3 separate regions of the Homo sapiens genome follow, and regions 2 and 3 are each linked to region 1. The links are contacts of gene promoters, found by promoter capture Hi-C in human tissues and cell types (Jung and others, 2019). All regions are on one chromosome and are shown on one strand. Each heading gives the region's core, a stretch centred on a gene start or on the middle of the fragment in contact. The rest is flanking DNA. Distances are from core to core; before and after follow the strand shown. Region 1 holds the start of CACNA2D4 (calcium voltage-gated channel auxiliary subunit alpha2delta 4). Region 2 overlaps ADIPOR2 (adiponectin receptor 2). Region 3 overlaps ADIPOR2 (adiponectin receptor 2).

Region 1 (3,704 bases), core at 1,117-3,616:
CCAAGTACCATTGGGAAGGTTGTGCACTGCACAACTCTAGAAGGCACCAATTGTGTTTTACCTTGAAAGACACAAATCTGAATTTAAAACCTCACATGATGTTTAGGAAAAGCTGCCCATAAGCACTGGGTATGTGTCTAGTAGGTAGAGACAGGGCTGGGAGTCATTGATGCAAAGGTAGGGATTGAAATTCTGAGGGCAGGAGGGCTCTCTCAAGGAGAGTGTGCAGCGTGAGATCTCTGAGCGTCGACAGCTGCTGGGGAGCACCCCCCACCTCCGGGGCAGGCAGAGGAGGAGGAGCACTTGAGGACAGCAGAGATAAGCCGTGCCCATGCAGGCCCAGCGGAGCGCAGTGCCACGGAAGTCAAGGACTGGGATAAAAGAAGACGGGGGCTTGTGTGTCCCAAGCAACAGGGTCTGGGGTGACAAGGCCAGGAATGTCTCCTGGATTGGGCATGAGGAGGGCTTTGGGAACCCTGTGGAAACAGACTTGGGAGGAGGTGGAAGCCCGGCTGGAGGGAAAGACTGAGAAGAGAGGTTCGGCGGGAGTGAGGACAGGTGGGGCCAAGTCCTGGGCAGGCAGATGAGGCTGTGTGCAGGCTGTTGTCTCTGGCAGCACCCAGGGCTTCTGCATAGATGGCCGCTGGGGCCCCCCTCCCTGAAGGCCTGGATTCCAGCCACCCCGACTTGGCCCTCAGCCCACTCCTGGAGTTGGCCCTCTCCTATCAGCTGGTGTGTGTTCTGGGGATGAAAATTGTTCTGAACATCTCCTGCAGCAACAGATAGCGTTACGGGCTGGCGGCGGGTGTAATGGTGAAAGTGCAGTCCAGGCTGACAGGAGTTCAAATCCCAGCACCTTCACTTCCTGGCCTTGTGAACTTGGGGAAGTCACCTGACCTCTCGGGGCCTCTGTTTCCTCAGCTGCAAAATAGGGATAAAAATAAGCCCCCACTGAATGGCTCTGCAAACTAACGGTGTCATTTGTGAAGCGCCCAGCTCCGTGCCAGGCAGGGAACAAGGAGAGCTATGCGGCTCGATGGGAAACGATGCTGCCTAATCCACTGGTCAGCAAAGGCTAAGCACAGGCACGGTGTGTCATTTAGGCTCCCTGTCCCCACTCCTGCTAAGACATGCAGTTGGCAGGTGGCTCTGTTGGTGGCCTGGCTATGGTGCTGGGCTCAAGCGGCTGGAGTAAACAGGATGGGGTCTGTAGCACCTACAGTCTAGAAGGCTCTGCTACCCACATGTATTGGAAATTTCCTTCCTAGGACCACCTGAGCTAGGGCCTAAAACACAGACACCCCAGAGAGGTTGCACAGTAATTTACATGTACACCAAGGTGCACATGACTGATACCGGGTTCTTTCCTGGAGCCGGTCTTAATGGCCGGCTAGAGAATCAAGGTTGGAAGGAGGCAGAAAGGTGTAGAAAGGGAAGACTGCGGCCACCAAAATCCATTTTTTTCCCCAGTTCCTGGACAAGCCACCTCCTGTGCGCATGAGACGTTCTGTGGGTTCAGAACTGCTTCCCCTTTTTGGAATGTCAAAATACGCATTTCCTGCCAAATGCTTCGGGGAGCTGCGATGCTGAGATAACCCGGCTCCTCCAGGCTGCCTCATCTCAGCGATTATCCTGAAGGAGCACCCGCCCTTCAGGTGTCCCAGAAGCTGCTTGTCAGGCCAGGAAGACAGCAGCCCTGATGATCAGTTCTTCCTAAAGCCATCCGGCTCCTGGGGAGAGGCAGGTGGGACTCCAGAACTCACAGAGCTTTTGGGAGGAGAAAGAGGAGGCCGGAGAAGCAAAGGGCTTTACAGCAAGAGAGTGGTCAGTCGCAGCCACTGGGGAAAAGCCCAGAGGGAGGGCAGGGGCGGGAGGAGTGGGCAGAGGATGGAGGCCCAGCCCGGGAAGAAAGTGGGAAAGGGTGACCGGGTTTTTGGGGTGGGGTTGAACGTGATGCTTACGTTTCCAGAGGAATCTTGGCCTGTCCCCACGCAGGGGACAGGGAGGTGCCTAGAAGCAGCAGCCACAGGAGGGCCGAGGTCTTCTGCACAAAGGCCCAGGCCACGGGCATTGGCTGGAGGGGAATCCAGCGGCTGCTGGAGCTGGGGTTTGCGAGGAAGTTGGGAGTTGCAGGCATGGTGGGCCTGGGGTTGGGGAGGGGAAGGAGGGCAGAGCAGCCACAGACCATGAGCTCTGTCTGCCTTCCTCCCAGACCCCAGGACGCCCCAGGCCTTTGTCTTCCGTGCCTTGGCGAGCCTGGGGTCTCCAGCCTCTCAGTCCTGGGTGGGGAGGGCTTCTCTCTGCCCCACAGCTGCAGCTCACAGAAGAGTCGCCCCACCTAGCAAGCAGGCCTCGGAGACAGGGACTGGGGGAGAGGCTGTGGCAACATGAAACCCTTTAATCCGCTGGCCTCTCCTCTAATCCTCTCCTGACAGCAGGGAGGGGGTGGCAGGGGGTGGGGAGCTGCCTCCCAAGATTACCACAACTGCAGCTGGTTCCCTCAGGGCTATAGTGCACCCCTCTGCTTTAAAGAGGCAGCCCCGTTCCTGTGGAACCACCTTCTGGACCCAGGAAGGGCTTGCTGTGACTATGGCCAGAGGACAGCAGCTGAGTTTGCACAGTACTCTGATTGACCCACAAATCTCTTGTTGACCCTGAGGTGGGGGTGTGTCCTCATCCCTGCTTGGCAGAGGCTCTTGAGGCCCGGGGAGTCCCAGGGGCAGAGCTGGGACTCTGGCTGGTGTTTCCAGGCCTGGTGCCTTTGGGACAGGTCATAGGTCATAGGTGAAGTCAGTGGACCCACGCCTCCACATCTCAGCTGCTCGTGGGCGGGGCTGGGGACGCATTTGCTGTGCAACTGATGAAGCTTCAGGACCCCTGAATCCACAGACTCCCCCCTTTCCCGGAGAGGCCCTAGCAATGTGTTCCTGTGGCCAAATGTTTTTGTAAAATATGCAAAAGTTGAGATAGTTTAACCATAACCGGTTGAGACTGTCTGTCTCTTTCCATCCCAACTTCTCTTCCGTCTGAGGGACTCTTAGTTGGATGATGTTTGGGTGGCTGAGGGCACTTGGGGGATCCAGTTAAGAGGAAAGTGAGCTGGGGAAACACTTAATCTGGGCTTAGTGGGATATGCTGACATGGTTCACAGTGACTTCTTTGTACAGAGAAGTTACCTCCAGCTGAGTGTAGGCAGGGCTTCCAGGAACACTCATCCCACAGGACATCCCACCAGCAGATGCAGCAAGAGAGGCTGGGCCGTGATGTGAGCGCACGCTGTCACACCCACCCTGGCCATGTGTGGTGGGGAGGGCAAAGTAACAGTCAGGAGCTCATCTGCAGAAAATCTACAAAAAGCCACACAGGTAACATCGTTGGTGGAGGATTTGGTTCTCACCAAGGCCTGGCCAGGACAGAAGTTCTCTCCTGTTAGGAAAATAGTGGATATTGAAAGAATATAATTACACCGTACATTGCTTTGTGTTCTGATGAGAGTTACACAAATTAGAATTGATCAAAATTCTTGTGTTGTGAGCCCAAACCAGTAGTAGTACCACATGGGTTCTCCGGGGGTGAAGTCATAGATTTTATGCAGTCCCCGTATCAGATTATTTTCTTAGTGTAACTGGTGCACTGTGTCTTCACAAAATCTGGTGGTTCCAGCAAAATGGTAAGCAAAATTGCCACCAACGCAGAGAAATGCT
Region 2 (3,679 bases), core at 856-3,355, 160 kb before region 1:
ATTCTCCTGCCTCGACTACAGGTACATGCCACCATGCCAGGCTAATTTTTGTAGCTTTAGCAGAGATGAGGTTTTGCCATGTTGGCCAGGCTGGTCTCGAACTCCTTACCTCAGGTATCCTCCCACCTCGGCCTCCCAAAGTGCTGGGATTACAGGCATGAGTCATCGTGCCCAGCTTCTTATTCTTAAATTAGCTTAGATATTATTTGATTTTGATTTTATGGTTAATGTCTTTCTGCTGACTCTTTTTTTTTTAATTTCGGAGACGGAGTCTTGTTCTGTCGCCAGGCTGGAGTGCAGTGGTGCGATCTCAGCTCACTGCAACCTCTACCTTCCAGGTTCAAGTGATTATCCTGCCTCAGCCTCCCGAGTAGCTGGGATTACAGGCACCTGCCACCACGCCTGGCTACTTTTTGTATTTTTAGTAGAGATGGAGTTTCACCATGTTGGCCAGGATGGTCTCCATCTCAACCTCCTTATCCACCTGCCTCAACCTCCCAGAGTGCTGGGATTATAGACGTGAACGACTGCGCCCGGCCTCTGCTGACTCTTAAAAGCGTACTTAACCTGCTTTATCTTGTTGAAGGGAGAAGACGTGGTCTATGGGTACCATATAATCTAATTTAACCATACTTTAGCTATGACGTTATCTGTTATTTTTGGAGAAATTCGAATTGCGTGTTAGAGCTACTTTTCCAGAAATTGTTTACCTCCAGTGTATACCTTGGGAGTCAGTAGAGTTCTGAAAGCTGAAGCAGATTTTATTCTTTCATTTCCTAGAGAAAAGAGCAACCTTTAGGCAACTATACCTATAGAGCAGAAGTATCAGAAAGTCATTGTTACAGACATTTTGCTATGTGCTTTGGAACTTCCAAATTATATAGCATGTGTTTAATGTTTTATTACTAGTACAGTGTTTCTCAAACTTTGGGTTGTACCTATTAGTGGGTTTTGAAATTAATTGTATTATAAAGTGTTAAAAATTAAAGATCAAAATAGAATAAAAACATTGAAGTGTGTATATAGTAAGTAATACACATTTAAATTGTTTTAGTTTTATATAGTTATGTATATAAATATGAATAATAATATGAAATACATTTCTTACTACGGGTTGTGGTTAACATTTTGAAAGCTTCTACTGGGAACAGCAGCTGGGGGAAGAGTGTTTCAAGGTAGAGGAAACAAGCTAGTGCCAAGGTCCAAAGGTGGGAATATGCTTATCTTCCTTGCCTTCCCCTCCTGCCTCCCACCACCACCTGCGCCTGCTTGTATCATCTTTCTCTTCTTTCATCTTCTCCTTTATTTTATTATTATAATTATATTTTTTTTGAGATAGAGTCTCGCTCTGTTGCCCAGGCTGGAGTGCAGTGGCACCATCTCGGCTCACTGCAACCTCCGCCTCCCAGGTTCAAGTGATTCTCCTGTCTCAGCCTTCCGAGTAGCTGGGACTACAGGCCTGCGCAACCACATCCGGCTAATTTTTGTATTTTTAGTAGAGACGGGGTTTCACCATGTTGGCCAGGCTGGTCTTAAACTCCTGACTTCAAGTGATCCGCCACCTTGGCCCCGCAAATTGCTGAGATTACAAGCGTGAGCCACTGTGCCTGGCCTTCTTTTTTTTTTTTTTTTTTTAAAGGACCAAAAGAAGGCCAGTGTAGTTAGAGCATGAGGAACTAGAGGGAAGAGTGAAATGAGATAAGGTCAGTGGGCCAGTCAGAGAACAGATTATACAGGTTTATTCAGGGAATTTAAATTTTATTTTAATAAAATTGCCTGGCACGTGGGCAGCTTTTGGGGTGTTTAAACATGGAGACATTTGTGTTTTTAAAAGTATGACTCTGGTTGTGGAATGGATTATTTGAAGACAGAATGGAAGAGGGACCCAGGTGTTAGAATATAGATGAGAGATGATGTCACTTGAAACAGCATGGTGGGAGCAGCAGAAATGGAGGGAAATGGTTGGATTCTGGATATATTTTGTGGGTCAAATCAACAAGACTTCCTGATGGATTAGCTGTAGAGTGAGGAAAATAGAGGAATCAAGGCTGATTCTCTGAGCTGAACTGAAATGGTAAAGCAAGAGGGAAGAGCGGGTTTAAGGTAGGGAAATCAAGAGTGGTGTTTTGGAAATGTGAGATTCAAGATTCTTGTTAGATATCTTAGAAGATATATTGAGGAGTCAGTAACTGTGTCACGATTAGATTTTTATTTACCTCTGTTTCTTAACTATTTTTAAAACTGAACTGTTATTAAGGAATCTAAGGAATTTTCAAGCTTGAAAGAATTTCAGGCTAGCCAATTTGAGATTCATAATGGCAATAAAATTCTGTTTATCATGCTACATTATTTTTAATTACGTACAAAGATCTAACATGTCACCCAGGGACCATTTCACCCACTGCTCTGTTTGGTCGCCAGTCTTTTGTCTTTCTTTTCAGCAATGGTGAGGCAGATACCCTTTTCCTCAGGGAAGAGAAGTCTGTGGTTTGTTGCCCTTGCCAATAACAAAAATGTTGGAAAGTTGAGTGGCAAAGCTGTTTCCATTGGCATCTTTCATGTGAACCACATCAAAAGATCCAGAGTGCCTCTCTCTGTTGGTTATCACACCAGTTCTTCCCAGGTTAGCACCTACAGTCACCATGCATAGGTTACCATTGTCAAACTTGATGAAATTGGTAATCTTGCCAATCTCCAAATCTGTCTGAATGGTATCATTCACCTTGATGAGGGAATCAGGGTAGCGGATGGTGCCGGGCATCATGAGTCACCAGATGAGGGATTCCTTTTGTGCCCCCAGAGATTTTTCTCACTTTGTATTTGGCCTCCTCAGGTGTAATAGGATGTACAGCAAAGCGACCCTTGGTGTCATAGATGAGACGGAAATTCTCCCCCGTCTTGTCAATGCTGATGACATCCATGAATCCAGCAGGGTAGGTTATATGAGTTCGGACCTTGCCATCGATCTTAATGAACCTCTGCATGTAATCTTCTTTACTTCATCTCCTGTCAGGGCTTACTTAAGTCTGTTCCTTAGGAATATGATGGGGAGACACTCTCTCAACTTGTGGGGACTAGTGGATGGACGAGGAGCAAACACACCGGTCAATTTATCCAGCATCCAATGCTTTGGAGCTGCTGCCCACTTCAGATGCTTCTTGGGACCACGCGCCATGGCTGCGTTAGGCAGGGAAAGCAAAATATATTTTTAGAGTCCAGAACTTGCCCACCCAATCACTTTTGTGTCAGATTTACATTAATTGATTTTTTTATGTGTTGTAATACTATATATTTTTGTTTCCTGTCTTCACTGGTTGAAGTGGTATCTTCTGTAAATAATATTTGTGTTTTAATTTCACTAATAAATAATTAGGTGGATGGGATTTTTCCCATCCTTATGAATGAACTCATTTATTGCCCTGAAAGCCTCTCTTTGATTTTCCTTTTATCTTGAGCTAATGCAAAAGTTAGCAGTATGAACAAAAGAACCATTTTTTCTTTCATTTGTTTTAATAGATTTTTCTATGAGGAGCCAAGGAAAGAAAGGATCCATAGGTTGTGGAATGTTAGAGCTGAAAAGGCCTTCCAAAATCATCTTGTTTGCCTTCCTCAATTTACCAGTGAGGAAATTGTGTTTTTATTCCTAATGAAAATTTGCGTGTGTATGTTGTTTCTCTTT
Region 3 (3,407 bases), core at 617-3,116, 220 kb before region 1:
CTTAAACGACTCTTAGGTAATTCCTAGATGTTTTCATCCGTTCTGATAAATTTGTTGTCAGAGTGTTGATTGTGATGATCTGCAACTAAAATTATTTCATCAGTAAAGATTTCCACACATGTGGCAGCTGCTTGTTGGTGAATTATGAAATTTGAAAAAATTGCAAATTAAATGTGAAAGGCATATTTCTTTTAACTTCTGATTGTAACTGTCTGTCCTCCAGTATACGTTCCTATCTAGACTTTGGTCTGCTTAGCAGATTTCCTCTTTTCACTTGACACTAGGAATGGGAGTAGGATTTCCAGAGCCTAAAAGAGAGTTTGTTTTTTTTTTCTATCCCTAGGCTCCTTGTATGAATTTATAAATAAATGGTTTTTTCTATCAATAGTATCAATTTAGCTGGTGCACTTTTTTTTTTTAGTATAAATCACATTTTGTTTCCTAAAATGAAAATAATTTTGTTTTATTCTTTATTTCAGGGATTGACAGATTTTAAAGCCTGCAGGCCCAGTCCTGCCAGTTGCCTCTTTTTGTAAATAAAGATTTGATTAGGCCTGGTGCGATCGCTCACGCTGGTAATCCCAGCACTTTGGGAGGTCGAGGCGGGCAGATAACCTGAGATCAGGAGTTTGAGACCAGCTTGGCCAACATGGTGAAACCCCGTCCCTATTAAAACTACAAAAATTAGCCGGGTGTGGTGGCGCACTCTTGTTATCCCAGCTGCCCGGGAGGCTGAGGCAGGAGAATCGTTTAAACCCGGGAGGTAGAGGTTGCAGTGAGCCAAGATTGCACCATTGCACTCCAGTCTGGACAACAAGAGCGAAACTCCGTCTTAAAAAAAAGAGGAAGAAAAAAGTTTTTATTAGAACATAGCCATATGCAGTCGTTTAGGTATTGTCTGTAGTTTCTTTTGGGGTACAGCAGCAGAGTTGAGTAGTTGTGCCAGAGAGCCATGTGGCCTGTAACACCTTATATTTATTTACTATGTGGACCTTAATATAAAAAGTTTGCCGAGCTCCATTAAAAATGATACATAGTCAATGTTGAAAATTTAAATGAGTCAGAAAATTGTAAAGGAGAAAGTAAAAGTTATTTACAAGTACACCACTTGGGGCTTTTTTTCTGTGATTATAGAATTTGTTGGTGATTATTTTTTATATAAATGAACTCAAATTGATAAATGTTGGTTTGTAATCTGCTTTTTTTTTTTTTTGTTCATTTTGTTTTTTGAGACGGAGTTTCGTTCTTGTTGCCCAGGCTGGAGTGCAATGGCACGATCTTGGCTCACTGCAACCTCTGCCTCCTGGGTTCAAGCAATTCTCCTGCCTCAGCCTCCCTAGTAGCTGGGATTACAGGTGTGCGCCACCAAGCCCGGCCAATTTTTTTTTTGTATTTTTAGTAGAGACGGGGTTTCACCATGTTGGCCAGGCTGGTCTCGAACTCCTCATGTGATCCACCTGCCTCACCCCTCAAAGTGCTGGGATTACAGGTGTGAGCAACCGTGCCCAGCCCTGTAATCTGCTTTTTTAAGAAGTATTTCATTATTTGTATTTGGATTTTGATTGCTTTTGTATTTTCTGCATTGGAGGTCTTTCTAGAAAGGGGCTTATGAACCGGGTTTTCATGATTAGTCTTACCAGTCAAGATTTAAAAAGAAAATCCAGGAATAATAAATGCTTGGTAATGAAGATGCTGGTTAACATTTATTGAGCACTTACTATGTACTAGACAATTTCCACTACTTTACGTGTATGAAATTATTTAATTGCTGTGGCAGCTCTGTGAGTGTATACTATGATTTCTGTTTTACAGGTGAGGAAACTAAGGCAAGGAGAAAAATTAAGTAACTGTTGGAAGTTTATCAGCTAGCAAATGGTGGAGCTAGGATTTGATTTCATGCAGTCTGATTTGAGAAACCCAAATTCTTAACAATATGCTACAGAGCCTCTACTTACATTATTGCTCAGTGTAGAAAGTTTAGACAGTCCAGAGATATACTGTCATCCCTTGGTGTCTGTAGGGACTGCTTCTAGGACCTTTGGTGAATATCAAGATGCACAGATGCTCAAATCTCTGATATAAATGGCATAGTATTTGCATATAACCTGTGCATATCCTCCCAAATACTTTATATCATTTCTAGATTACTTATAATACCTAATAGAATATAAATGCTATGTAAATAGTTGTTATACTGTATTGTTTGGGGAATAAAGACAAGAAAAAAAAGTCTGCATGTTTCAAATACAGATGCTATATTAAACTTTTTGGATCCAAGCTTGGTTGAATCCACAGACATAAGAGCCCATGGATATGGAGGGCCAACTGTATAATGTAAAAAAATTCCTTCTCATGCGCTAGTTTCCAGTTTTCATCCTTTGTAGATAACCAGGGGCAACAGTTTGATATAGGTCTTTTCACCTCTCTTTGTGTGCATATACAAGTAATTATTTGCAGATTTGTCTGCATATTCAGAATTTAAAAATTACACTTTTTTTTAGCAGCTTTAGATGTACAGAAATTTGAGCCGATAGCACAGAAAGTTCCCATATTCCCTTCCCTTCCCTCGTTTCTCCTATTGCAAACATCTTGCATTAATTTGGCACATTTATTGCATTTGATGAGCCCATATCAATATGTTGTTATTTATTGGTCTATAGTTTACATAGGGCTTATTCTTTGTGTTGCAGTTTTTTTTTTTTTTTTGTTTTGTTTTTTTAAGATCTCACTCTGTATCTCAGGCTGGAGTGCACTGGTGCCGTCATGGCTCTGCAGCCTCGACCTCCCGGGCTCAAGCGATCCTCCCACCTTAGCCTCCCAAAGTGTTAGGGTTACAGACATGAGCCACTGCACTTGGCCGAGAGTTATTTTTTACAAAAATGGGATCAAGCCCAGTGGTGGCTTGCGCCTGTAGTTCCAGCTACTTGGGAGGTTGAGGTGGGAGGATTGCTTGAGGCTAGGAGTTTGAGACCAGTCTGGGCAACACAGCATGACTCTGACCAGTCTGGGCAACACAGCATGACTCTGTCTCTTAAAAAAAAAAAAAAGTGGGCTGAGGGTGGTGGCTAACGTCGGTAATCCTTGCACTTTGGGAGGCCAAGGCAGGTGGATCACCTGAGGTCAGGAGTTCGGGACCAGCCTGGCCAACATGAATGAAACCCCCTCTCTACCAAAAATATATTAAAAAAAAAATTATCTGGGTATGGTGGCGCGCGCCTGTAATCCCAACTACTCAGGAGGCTGAGGCAGGAGAATCGCTTGAAACTGGGAGGTGGAGGTTGCAGTGAACCGAGATTGCACCACTGCGCTCTAGCCTGGGCAACAGGAGCAAAACTCCATCTCAAAAAAAAAAAAAAAAAATGACGAAACCCGTCATTCAGCAGTCATTCACCTTTTTTGGTGGTTTT

Evidence for each region. The method cuts DNA at HindIII sites, captures the fragments that hold promoters and counts their contacts. A contact is called where the count stands out against the background at its distance.
Region 2: a contact is called between a fragment that was not itself captured here and the fragment with the promoter of CACNA2D4 in region 1, in 2 of the 25 tissues and cell types used here (IMR-90 fibroblasts and aorta).
Region 3: a contact is called between a fragment that was not itself captured here and the fragment with the promoter of CACNA2D4 in region 1, in 1 of the 25 tissues and cell types used here (spleen).

The regions. Positions count from the first base shown.
Region 1 is chr12:1,916,286-1,919,989 of GRCh38, forward strand. CACNA2D4 (calcium voltage-gated channel auxiliary subunit alpha2delta 4) reads right to left here and starts at 2,367. Exons shown (of 38, transcript NM_172364.5): 1 at 1,962-2,367. The coding sequence starts at 2,188. RefSeq lists an enhancer at 440-1,016. The HindIII fragment of the contact is 9,283 bases long and covers 1-3,704 here.
Region 2 is chr12:1,754,837-1,758,515 of GRCh38, forward strand. All of the region lies in intron 2 of ADIPOR2 (adiponectin receptor 2), which reads left to right. It also overlaps the pseudogene RPS4XP14. Among named protein-coding and RNA genes, the nearest start is that of LRTM2, 64 kb to the right of the region's middle. The HindIII fragment of the contact is 4,565 bases long and covers 1-3,679 here.
Region 3 is chr12:1,692,322-1,695,728 of GRCh38, forward strand. The region is part of intron 1 of ADIPOR2 (adiponectin receptor 2); the gene reads left to right. Among named protein-coding and RNA genes, the nearest start is that of ADIPOR2, 3.0 kb to the left of the region's middle. The HindIII fragment of the contact is 3,880 bases long and covers 1-3,407 here.